Regions from separate parts of the Homo sapiens genome. Here region 2 is linked to region 1. The links are contacts of gene promoters, found by promoter capture Hi-C in blood cells and fetal thymus (Javierre and others, 2016). All regions are on one chromosome and are shown on one strand. The core of a region is centred on a gene start or on the middle of the fragment in contact, and the rest is flanking DNA. Distances in the headings are between cores, read along the strand shown. Region 1 holds the start of SST (somatostatin). Region 2 has its middle 17 kb from the start of RTP4.

Region 1 (6,310 bases), core at 1,196-3,695:
ATGTTTGGTTTTTATTCCAGTAGCTATGCAGAAATGCAGTTGATAGCTAAAACACACATCCCCCAAAGGATATCTCTTTAGGTCTCAGGAAGTTAAATTAGCAATGTTTACATTCTGTCTTGAGTGATCCCATTTAGCATGTTGTTATAAGACTATCACCTTTACTGAGTGTTTAAGAATAATTTTTGTGTTTTTATTTGACTCCCATATTGATAGAATTAAGAGAAGACTTGAGATATCTCCTTCAGCTATTTCATAATTATGATTTTGAGCTCCAATACCTGCAATATAGATAGCACTCAGTGAGGTAAGCCAATATGCATTTCTTGCAACCTATAGTACTTCCAGAAGGAATCTTATAATAAAAGTGATATTTCTCCCTGAGAAAAAATATCTTAAAAGCTTGCTTTTAAAACAGTCATTTAGCACTGTTCAATTAGAGAGGATTGTCAAAGAAGACACAAAAGCAATGGTATTTCTCTAGATAAATGTTTACAAACTAGAAACAAATTCAGAACCTCATTTTAGCTATTTAAGTCAGATTTTTTCTCAACCACCAAATGACTTTGTTCCTTCCATCTTTTCATATGTTATGTATTTTACATATCAACCTGGTAGATAGTTGGATTTTTCAGCCTAACTATTCACACACACTCATTTCAATAGTCCAACATATAATTTAGGTGTACTTAATATGTAATTAATGTTTATGTCAGCCTCTCCCAGTAATTATCATTGAATTAAAGTTTGAATGCATAGAGTTATGTGAAATTATTTCTGTTTAAAATGACTCATGTTATAATAGTTATCATTTAAAATGTAAACTTTATTGCCACCGAGAATTTTAAATAGATGTTTGTGAACATTGGAGTACCTATCTCAAATAACTTTACTGAAACCGCCACTCAAGCTTATTATGTATTATTGAACAAAAAGATTTACTCAATAGAAACCAAATTCACATTTTTCATAATTTCACCATAATTTTATTTTGTATTTACAGTTTTCAGTTTCTAATGCAAGGGTCTCGCTGAAGACTTGGAGGATTAGGGAAGAGAGATGGGGTGTGGGGGCGAGGGATCAGAGGTCTGATATGGACAATACTAGTTAAGAAAGCTAACAGGATGTGAAAGTCTTCCAGAAGAAATTCTTGCAGCCAGCTTTGCGTTCTCGGGGTGCCATAGCCGGGTTTGAGTTAGCAGATCTCTGCAGCTCAAGCCTCATTTCATCCTGCTCAGCAGCCTGGGACAGATCTTCAGGTTCCAGGGCATCATTCTCCGTCTGGTTGGGTTCAGACAGCAGCTCTGCCAAGAAGTACTTGGCCAGTTCCTGTATAGGGCAGAAGGGATAGAAAAAGAGAGAAAGAGAAGTGGGGAGGACAATGGAAAAAATTTGAAAAGCCTAAATTAAAGAACAGATTTGGTCACACACAAAATCCAGTTTTTACAGCTGCGCATTTTTTGTCACATTTAAAATCAATCAAGGATATAAAAATAAGGATAGTTGCTATAATTACCAAGTTACACAAAAAGGCTTTAAGAGCTCAAATGTTTCTGCAACCTTTCTGTCCCTGTAGACTTAACACACACACACACACACACACACGCACAAACACACACACACACACACACACACACATAAAGACCGTTCTGGTAAGATAAAGTGTGTGCCAACAGTTTAATTCAATTTTCACATCACGAGCTACAAAGTAGAATTGTTTTACCATTTTTACCAAGTAAACTGTAGGGGAACGAGACTTCTCACAATCTCAAACATACGGCGTTCGGTCTTTAGATTGCCCCTTTGCCCTAGTCCCGACGTTTGGAAGTGAGGTACGCTAAGAGGTAGCAGCTTCAGAGGTCTGCGTTTCAGCACCTGGGTCAGCGCTTCCCAGGGTCAGCACCAGGGATAGACGCCATTGTCGCTTCGTGCCCAGACAACTACCCAGATTTTGTAATTTTCTTGAATGCCAAGTAAGAACTCACCTGAACTGTGACCGACTGCGCTTATCATGGGGGAAAAAAAGAGTTAGAAGGGGATTCTAGCCTTTGATAGTTTTCTCAAGAGCTTCGGGAGCTGAGGGACCCAGAAAAGCACCAAAACTCTTTAGAAGGACTGAGCATCCCTTACGTCCAAACCAATGGGGCAGGAGCAAGGCTTAGGGAGGGCTGGAGAATCCGGGAGACGTCGAGGGAGTCTCCTTACCTGCTTCCCCGCGGCAGCAGCCAGGGACTTCTGCAGAAACTGACGGAGTCTGGGGTCCGAGGGAGCGCCGGTGACACAGCCCAGGGCCAGGACGATGGACAGCGCAGCCAGCGCGCACTGGAGGCGGCAGGACAGCATCTCGGCGCCGCGAAAGCCGAGCTGGAGAGTGGCTGGTCAAACTCTAGGCGCGGATCAGCAGGCAGCAGCGATGGCTCCGAACCTCGCTCCTAAAGCGGCTTGTGTGCTCTCAACCGTCTCCCTCTGTTTTAAACTCTCTCTCTGACGTCAGGCTAGGAGGCGCCCCCAGATCTCACCAGCCCTTTTACGCACCATTAGCCTCGCAAAATCAATCACAGAAGACAGGGGAGGTGACAAGATCTAAAGTGGCTTACTTAAAAAAAAAAAAATACTGCACACGCACAGGCACACACAATTCCACATGCCCCACGATTTATACAATCTTTTATTTTCACTCAGTGCTATGAGCATACACATTCCACAATTTCACTCCCACACATGCACACTCAATTACACACAAACAGAGGCTCAAACACTCAGCTCTTAAAGAGCAAATACACTATCACCCTTAAATGCACACAAATGTACCCAGACAACTCCATCTGTCATCATACTCTAACATTTTAGGAAGGCCCAACAAGCAACAGGGCATGTGTATGGTAGGTGGAGATCAGAATCATTCCTCTAATAACAGATTTGAGAATGAAATATGGACAGTAGAAGGACTGAGCCCTCTTTATTTCCTCCATTATCTCATAAAAAGCCTTGAAGATGTAACGGGGCTCTAAAAGAACTTCACTTTTCTCTACAATGGGGGAGAAGGTACCTCTGGCTCACCCTCCCTCCCTCTTTCTCAGCAACTGAGACTTCTGATCTACCTGCCTTTCTATTGTGACCATATATATGTATGAGTGTGTGTATATGTACGGGAGGGAAAGAGAGAGAGAGAGATTGAAATGGACTTCATTTTGGTGCTGAGAAATTTAGAGCTGGAAGGCAATCTAAGAAATTATTCAATAAACCTCAGAATTTGAATCAGTAAGGCAGAGTAATGGTCAGTAAATTGTTCTCCTTCACATACTGCACACTTTGAGCAAAACCAGACCTCCACATTCCAAAGCCAGTGTTCCTTCTACTGAGCTCTGAGTTTTCTAACAGATTCCTGGCCGGTAAGCATAGTTTTATGTCAGGAAGCCCCAGTTTAGACATATAAGGTCTAGGAACTCCCAGAACATATGTGACCACTATTGTATATCTATATGTGGAAAGGATCAAAAGATTCTTGGTTAAATTCAGCTCTGCCTGATCTCCTAGAAACAAAGAAAGTTTAAGAAAACCTGTCCTTGAATTCTGATTGAACTCTGGTTAAATGTTTACTGTTCAGGCCAGAGTTCTGACTGCTTTTATCTAAATAGTTCCTTACTGAGGAAGGACCAGCTAATTTCCTAGCATGGACGAGATGATCCCTACAGGATCTTTAAGAGCTGTTATCTTATGAGCTTCAAAAAAGCCAATATTAGCTAAAAAGATATGCTGCATCTCTGGAAACCATGCGAAGCTCATATTAGGTATTAAAATATTCTCAGTACTTAGACCCGAACCACAGTGTTGAGAGGCAGAAGGGTTTGGGAAGTATCCTGAATGGCTTGAATAATTGTCACTATTTCTTTTTGTGCTTGTAATCCAAGGCAAAGCGGAAATGCACAGCAAGAAGTGTTAAAGTTTCCAGGTCTTGACAAGGCCAGCCAAGACTAAGCACAAAGTGGGGCATTAAAAAGTCATTCACATGTGTTGGAGTAGTCTAAGAGATCAATGAATCTGGAGCTGTGGAACCCAGTCCTAGGAAATACATGTTATATTCTCTAAATCTTGCAACTCTCTCTGGCCTCTAAGGACTCAGAGTTTAGTTCTATCACTGTGACTGTCTCTAGGTACCTCCAAATGATCTCATATCTCCTGTACCCAGGATGTGGTCTTTGGCATACCCACTGAGTAGGAAACGAGGATTTTTCCAAAGCAGGAGCCAGCCGAAGAACAAATAGCAGCTCCCCATCTTCCCCTGTGCTCTAGGATCTCTTCTGTCTCCTTCCCCAGACGCTTGCTCCCCTCCTTCCACATCCTTGTGCTCTCCCTCTACACTTTCTCCTCCTTCTTATTCCTCCTTTTCCTTAACCTTTCTGCAAATTTATGTTTCAGAATTTTCCTCACTCAATCCTTCTTTTGTCTCCTCTCTTGACTCTGTATCCTCATTCCTTTGTTTTTCTTGCTCTTCTCAATCATTTTCTGACTTTGGTTTGGGTCAGCCCGGCTCTTTCCCTGCCTTCTCACCCTGCTTAGCCAGTGCCTATCCCAGTCTCTGCCTCAAGACATCTCTCCCTCTCTTTTCTCTCCTCTTTTCTTTCTTCTTCCCTCCTCAACTGCTTCTCACCAAAAACAAACAAACAAAAAACCTCATGATGTCTATCTGTTTAAGTATCTACTTATGAATAGTAAACAGTTGCTTCCCTCATACCCTGCTGAAGAGCTGAAGCTGTAAATGAGATGACTTAAGGGTTTTGCTTTTGTTGTTTTATAACTCCTGGAGAGTTATGAGTCTGAGAACCACTTATCAGAGAAGCCAGGACAAAAAGGGACATAAATTCTCCCTTAAGCCCTCCATGGCCAGTTATAGCTTAAAGGTTGGTTTAGCATGAAGCACTTCAAACTTTCCCAACCTGAGCCTTCTGTAATCAACCCCCAGGGCATCTCTCCCAAGTCTCAAAGCTGGAAGGGTAAAGTGTTTTGTGGTTGTATTGGGGACGCTATTGCCCAGACCAACCAAACTCACTAGGAATCCTTACCCAGTCCTCTGTTGCTCACAAAACACTTTCTCATCCAACACTTCAGGGCATGCTATTCCCACCTCACAGAGGAGGAAACTGAGGTCCTGAGACCTTCAGTGCCTTACAAGAGGGCACACAGGCAGGAAGTGGCATGGTCACAGGGAGAATGTTACTTCACTTGAGAAAGCTTCATGATTCCCTGACTCAGAGATGCCAGAGATTCCTGGCCGAGCAGTCTGCAGCCGGGATACATGCACCTCTAGAAGGCATCCAGGCCTCACCTCTTTCATGTGCAGCTTTTTCTGGACAGGATATGATTTCCCACCTCCCTTGTGGAACGTACATTTTGGAGTGACTACCTGCCAATATAAGGAGTAGAAACTTATTTTAATAAAAAGCAACATAATCTGTGAATAGACATAGACATTCAATGTTAAGCAATGCAAGGAAGGAGAAAGTGTCTGTACTGGGAGTCAAGAGACCTGGGCTCTAGCCTGATTCTGCCACAACCAACTGTGGGACATCTTCTCTGGGCCTTGGTTCTTTATTTGCAAAATAAAACTTGGCAGGTCATCTTTGTGGTTCCCTCCAGCTCTGATAATTAATGAGTATAAATTTGAGGAAATAAAAAGGCAAAGTAGAATATACTATTATGTTAAGATGTTATTATTCTCTCAAGATGAGAATTTTATATTGGAAAAGAACCTGGTTTTTACGTAATATCAGAAAGGAGGCTGAGTGCAGAGGACATTTCCCAGGCCTACTAGAAGATGTATTCTTGACTCTTGCTTCTGCTGCTGACCTGCCTTTCTCACTCTGGACCTCAATTTCTCCATCCTTAAAATTGATTCACTCAACCTCTTTCTACAGCTAATTCCAGAGAAAATTTGCTAGACAGATGCCAATGATATAGCAGTGAACTGGATAGACAGAGTCCTCATGAGAAAGACAAAGAATAAACATGTTAATCAACATGTATTAGGGTTAAAGCAAAGTATAGAGCATAATGGTAGGCGGAAGATACTTCTGAGGAGGAGCTCTTTGAACAGAGCTCTCTGAGGCAAGGGAGCTAGCCATGCAAATATCTGAATAAAGATATCTCCAACTCAGGTGGAAGGACGATCAATGCAAAGACCTGAGGCAGAAGTATGCTTGGTAGATGCAAAGAGCAGCAACAAGGCAAGGACTTGAACAGAGTGGTTAAAGTAGAGAGGGTTAGGAGATGAGGTCAGCAAGGCAGACCAGGAGCAGATCACAGGAAGCCT
Region 2 (6,708 bases), core at 3,101-5,600, 320 kb before region 1:
GAGTTGGTCTCTTTACTCTGTTGTTTCCTTTGGTATGTGTAAGCTTTTTAGTTTGATGCAATTTCATTTGTCCACTTTTGCTTTTGTTGCCTGTGCTTTTAGAGTCACATCCAAAAGATTTTTGCTGAAGCCGATGACAAGCAGCTTTTATCCTACTTTTTTTCTAGAAGTTTTATAGTTTTAGGGCTGATATTTAAGTCCTTACTCCATTTTCAGTTGACTTTTATATATAGGATAAAATAAGGGTCCAAATTCATTTTTCTGCATGTGGATATTCAGTTTTCCCAACACTGTTTATTGAAGAGACTATTTCCCAATTGTGTGTGGAATCTAAAAAAAGTTGAACCCATAGAAGCAGAGAATAGAATGGCGATTACTAGAGGCTGGGGCAGCAGGAGTGGGGTGGTGAAGGGGAGATGTTGGTCAAAGGGTGCCAAGTTTCAATTAGATGGAAGGTGTCAATTCTGGAGATCAGTTGTACAGCCTAGTGACTATATTTAATAATAATGTACTGTATACTTGAAAATTGTGAAGTTCTCACCATAAAAAATAAGCATGTCACATGATGGATATGTTCATTAGCTTGATTTAATCACTCCACAATGTACACGTATATAAAAAAATCACATTTTGCCTCATAAAAGCATATAATAAAATAAATAGGCTGGGCGTGGAGGCTCATGCCTGTAATCCTAGCACTTTGGGAGGCCAAGGTGGGCGGTTCACGAGGTCAAGAGATCGCCATCCTGGCCAACATGGTGAAACACCATTTCTACTAAAAATAACAAAAATTAGCTGGGCATGGTGGCACGTGCCTGCAGTCCCAGCTACTTGGGAGGCTGAGGCAGGAGGATCATTTGAACCTGGGAGGCGGAGGTTGCAGCGAGCTGAGATCACGCCACTGCACTGCAGCCTGGTGACAGAGCGAGACTCCGTCTAGAAACAACAACAACAAAAACAAACATAAATGAATAAACACACATGTAAAAACATTTCAAAAATAAATTTTGAGGCCAGGAGTAAAAATGGAAAAAGATAATATTTTCTATTTGATTTAAAACATCAAGACCATATTTGTCATAAACTTATATGCACTTTAAACAATGTATTGCTAGATATAGAAAGCACAGTTCTTAGATATAAGAATAAAATTTGACTCACTAGAATTAAATAATTTTTATTCATTCCAATTTTTCTGTACAAAAAAGAGTTTTTAAACACCTTGTCTTTAAATTTAATTGACCAAATAGACCAAAAATAGAATATTAATGAGTTTAGTCACATAATTAATAGGATGAATTTACTAGATAATCTAGCATATGGTACCTTATAAAGAATGTATATTATATGCCCATAGAAGCAGGAAAAAAAATGTGTACTGCATTCTAGGACTATCACACAATCAAGCTAGATCCACATAAATGCTAGATCAAAACTGAGACCTACTGAAAAAAACAAAAACTAAACAAGTAAAATCTCAAATTTCTTTAAAAAATTGTAAATCAAATCAAAACTATATTCTGAGATATAAAAATCAACAAAAATAAGAACAGTATACAGCAAAAGTATGGGCTGGTACTAAGCATAAGCACTATTCATACATTTAAATTCAAAAGGCCCAAAATAACAACCAGGCCTTCAATTCAATACAGAAAAGTTAACAAAATAAGCCATATAGATGCATATATAAAATTATACAATTAATTAAATAAAAGCATAAATTAATGACTCTGAATGCTAAAAATGAAAAAATACAATTAATGGATAAAAGGGGCGATTCTTCAAAAAGATAAATAAAATACGCAGGTCCAGCCTGGTGCAGTGGCTCACGTCTGTAATCCCAGCACTTTGGGAGGCCGAGGCGGGCAGATTACCTGAGATCAGGAGTTCAAGACCAGCCTGGCCAACATGGTGAAACTCTGTCTCTACTAAAAAAACAAAAATTAGCAGGGCGTGGTGGCACACACCTGTAATCCCAGCTACTCGGGAGGCTGAGGCAGGAGAATTGCTTGAGCCTGGGAGACGGAGGTTGCAGTGAACTGAGATCATGCCACTGCACTCTAGCCCGGCTGACACAGCAAGACTCTGTCTCAAAAAAAAAAAAAAAAAAAAAAAAAAAAGGCAAGTCCTTTGGAATTTGGGCCTTGAATGAAGGGAGAAAATAAAAATATAAAGCATTAGAAATGAGGAAAGTATAACTAGATGAAAATCTAAACAAAATACAGAATTCTTTAGGAAAATTAGAAAACCAAAACTGACTCCAGACAAGGCTCTCCACCCCTCCCCACCCTGTGTATGTGGGTGTAGGGGTGGCAGTGGGAGAGGCTGTGGTTCTCCAGAACCTTCCAGTTGCCTGGAAAGTTCTGTTAGGAGGATCCCACTTTGTCCGCAGAGCTCATGTCCTTCAGGCCATCTTTGCAGGTAATAAAGGGTGTATGGTATTTTAATTTCCCCCAGGTCAGTGTCTATCTTTCAATGTGTTGTAAATAAAGGTGGAAGGAGGTATGCGTTATTTGCTTTCCAACATGTTCCAAGAATGCAAACAATATGAAAATCTGCCTACATCTTTTTATGGGGCTAGCATTGATATGTCTGATGCTAAAACTTGATGAGAGCACAAAACATAAACATATAGAAAATTCTAATTTATAAGTGGTAAATGAAATCATGTCAAAGTGACTTAAGAAAAAAAGGGAGCTGATTTGTTCATATTACCAAAAGATATGGCAGAATGTTCTTCGGCATGCTGGAAACAAGTACTTAAAGCTTCCCTTTGTACTGGTTTCATTCTCAAGCACATTTTCACCTGGCTGTGGCAAGCTGTCTAGGTACAAGCTGACATTCTATTAGCTTGGTACTCCAGCAGAAGGAGAGCATCTCTCTGTTGGCAACTCCAGCACAAGTCCCCATAGTGGCATCTCACTGGTCCGGCTTAGTTCCCATGCCATCACTAAACCATTCACTGTGGCCAGAAAATCTGGTGCTCTAATTGGCCAGGAGTGAGTTATGTGCTCACTCCTAGGTTATGGCTCAGTACTAGGAAGTCTATGAATATAAATGAGAATATTAATTATTTAAAAAGAAAAATCATGTGGGGAAAGGCATTATACTTGATTTAGCACTCATTTCTGGTTAGTTCATTCATTCCTTCAACATACATTTCTTAAGGACCAATTCTGTATGGTTTTCTGGTTTTGGTGTGGAAGTGAACAAAAACAAGCCAAACTCCCTGCTTTGTGGAGGTTACATATTAGGATTTAACATTGTATGCAGAATAGTAAGAAAGTTTAAATATGGTTAAAAAAAGTTAGATACTAAAAGCAAAATGTATGTTAAATATGGCAGCACTAAAGACATTCCCATCCTAGAGTATTTATTTTAATTATCTTTTAGAGCACAATTTTAATAAGGTTTCTGGGAAGCGCAGATATATATATTGAGTTTCTACTTGTTAAGGATCCTTTTTTTCTTTCCATTTTGCAAGTGAAAATAACTTGATAGATTTTTCAGACTCGAATATTTTTCCTTTAAACTCTGCAAAAGTTGCATCATATTTGCTGGAATTTAATATTAATGAGAAAGGACCTGAAGCCAACCTAATTTTTGTTGCTTTGTAGGTAAGCCATTTCCTCCCATCCCTGCCTGGATACATGTAAGACACCTCACCCAACCAATCTAAAAAAACTTAAAACTTACCAGAGTATGTGTATGTAGAAAACTCTATTGATTAATTTTGATTGCTTCTTATGAAGTCCTTTCAAACCCGAACATGTCTTTTTTGACTCAGAAACATTTTTTTTCTTCTTTAATTGTTTCTCCTCAATTTGCACTTTTCTCCTACCATATTTTTTGTATACCTAAATGGGATCTTCTGCATTTGTTCTTTACATCTTTGTTTTTCAATGGTTCACCACCTTCTCTCTTTTCTTTGATTTTGGGAGACGTTTTTGAACTTTTGCCCTCCTGCTTTGGTTTTCCATGATATTTAGTGCCCCTTTGCCGTTTGAATTTTGTTGGTGATATTCTTTGTTTGCAGTCTTTAAAACTGCATGATGTCATTTTAAAAGAAATATTTATTTAAGATTCTCAGAATCCAAATGAAATGTTCTCTCTATTCCCTAGTAATTTTATTTAATATGAAGTTCTCTGATTTCAGAAGCCTGTCCTTCCCAGTATTGGATGTTGAGCCTGAATCGCTCAAGAACTATTTGTGGACCTTTTAAATTTTTAGGTCTAGACAAGGAGGGGCTGAATAGGTTTGGATATACAGCAGTTCTTCTTTGCCTGTCTGCATTCCTGAAGCCTGACAAGGGTAGGCAGAAGGCTCGAGAAAATGATGGTCAGGGTCTTGGAATTCTCTGCTCAGGCTTCTTTCCTTTCCCATGTTTCATGTGATCTGAGAGCTAGCTGGGGCAGTGGCCTCATTTGCTGACCCTCAGAGTTCCATGCCACCCGGCTCATATGTCCTCGGGCGTGCTCCAGTGTGCTGGCACTCCCTTCACGGTGCATGGACCAGGAAACCTAATCCAAACAAGTCTAGGCAATAAAGGGAATGAGCACTCAGTTCACTGAGATAAGCTGAACGCTACAGGACTTTTTCCTCATAGCCTAATGAGGTTGTCAAGGACCAAGTTTCTTTTAGTCTTTGTTCTCTGCTTTCCAGATGTCTTCACCCCAAGCCAGACCTCCCTTAAGGAGACAAAAAATTTGCAGCAGTTCCCACAGTTCACGTCTGCACAGCACATGACCCAGTAGGAGATGGGACTGACTGGGTCAGACTGCAATACCTGAACTCCTTGTTATTGAAGAAGCATGAGGTCTCACTAATTGGCTTATACTCATATTGGCATTGCCGCTGCCTCCAGGGCTGAGGTGGCGTTAATTCACTATTTCCTGCTCCGCCACACAGCTGCTACCCAGGTGAAAGGGTTAAATGGCTAAGGGATAGTCATCCGTAATATATTCAGGTTTTTAATGCCTCTTCTAAGTGTGTTCTCAGAATTAGCCAAGTGCGCAAGTGGTAGAGATACACAGGGATAGATTTATTTACTTTTGTGAATCTACTATATTAATCATGTAGTTTGTTTAAATAGTGTGATTCAGTTTTGAGAGCAAAGTTGGGAAAACCTCTTACCCGTTATTTTTATTTTACTTTGATACTCTGTTAAGTCAAACTCAATGAGTGGGGAGCAGGGAGGCTAATGGGCATTTATAGAATGACATTATACTTTAATATTAAAATAGGAATATTTAGATTTACTTATATATGTAAGCAATTTTTTTTAGCATGTACTACTTGCCAGGTACAGTTGACCCTTGAACAATGTGGGGGTTAGGGGCACCAACCCGCCCCCACCACACAGTTAAACATCTGTGTACGACTTCTGACTCCCCCAAAACTTAACTCCTAATAGCACATTGTTGACTGGAGGCCTTACTGATAACATAACCAGCCTACTAACATGTATTTTGTATTATATATATTATTTATTATATTTTTACAATAAAGTAAGCTAGATAAAACAAAATGTTTCTGAGAAAATCATAAGGAAGAGAAAATAGATTTACTATTCGTTAAGTAAAAGTGGATGATCATAAAGGTCTGCATCCTTGTCATCTTCACATTGCGTGGACTGAGGGGGAGAAGTTGGTCTTGCTGTCTTGTCTCAGGGGTGGCAGAGGTGAAGAAAACCCATGTATAAGTGGACCCACTCACTTCAAACCTGTGCTGTTCAAGGGTCAACTGTGTTTCATTACTGAGCGTGAGAGTGCAATGTGTACCAGCCAAAGAAATGTTCCTGCTCTTAAAGAGTTTAAGTCATAGAAGAGATCAGTCAAGTCAATAGGTTTGTAGTGTGAAATTGTTATACAAGATGCCCTGGGTGCTACGGAAGCACATAGAGCAGGCACCAAATCTAGGCCTGGGGAAGCAGAAAAAGCTTATTTATTAGAGGAGAATACTGAGTAATACTTCAAGGGCAGGTCGGCATGGGCCAGGTAAAGAGATGCTGAAGGAGCCTCCAGACAAGGAGAGCTCATGTGGGAAGGCCCAGCAATGAGAGAGGCAGTAAAGCAAGGTTCTAGAGTTAAACTATCTGGTTTGGAATCCTGGCTCTTCCACTTATCAGCTGTGTGCACAAAGTATTTCGACAGGGATAATAAAAATGGCAGCTACCCCGTGAAGTTGTTATGAAGATTGAGCAAGTTAACATTTGTAAAACACTTCAAACAGGGCTTTGTTTGTTACATAAAAAATAAAATTAAACCTACATATAAAACAAAACAAATCTTTCCATACTGCCTCAATCAACAACGAGTAAGAAAGAATCTACTCTTTAGTGTCTCCCATTGGAGGCCGCCATGTTTACTCCCTGACCTCCGCAGCAGTGGATCCAGCTTCCTAAATGAGCTTGTCTGCTTCCCCTGCCCTGCCTGCATTGAGCTTCCAGCTGGCTCAAGAGACATGCTCACACACAAGCTCAGAAAAGAACCACGAACATTGAGAGACAGCAGCTCAGTCAGTGAGTCCATGGGAAGAGCACCAACATGGAATCCAGGAGAAGTGGTCATGTGTACATCTAAGATAAAAGCCAGGCAAGGCAGCCATCAGTGACTTGGGCAGGTCGTCACAGAGACTGACAGGAAGTTCTTGTTGCCACTTCCATATTTTGTGAAAAGGCAAGACTCCAGCTCTGGGAAGCCTGACCA

What was found. The method cuts DNA at HindIII sites, captures the fragments that hold promoters and counts their contacts. A CHiCAGO score of 5 or more calls a contact.
Region 2: a contact is called between a fragment that was not itself captured here and the fragment with the promoter of SST in region 1, in 5 of 17 cell types (M1 macrophages, naive B cells, naive CD4 T cells and 2 more). The highest score is 6.0, in M1 macrophages.

The regions. Positions count from the first base shown.
Region 1 is chr3:187,667,949-187,674,258 of GRCh38, forward strand. It overlaps SST (somatostatin), which reads right to left and starts at 2,446. Exons shown (of 2, transcript NM_001048.4): 1 at 2,206-2,446; 2 at 964-1,329. The coding sequence starts at 2,343. The coding sequence ends at 1,117. The HindIII fragment of the contact is 4,322 bases long and covers 909-5,230 here.
Region 2 is chr3:187,348,359-187,355,066 of GRCh38, forward strand. No RefSeq gene overlaps it. Among named protein-coding and RNA genes, the nearest start is that of RTP4, 17 kb to the right of the region's middle. The HindIII fragment of the contact is 3,173 bases long and covers 2,765-5,937 here.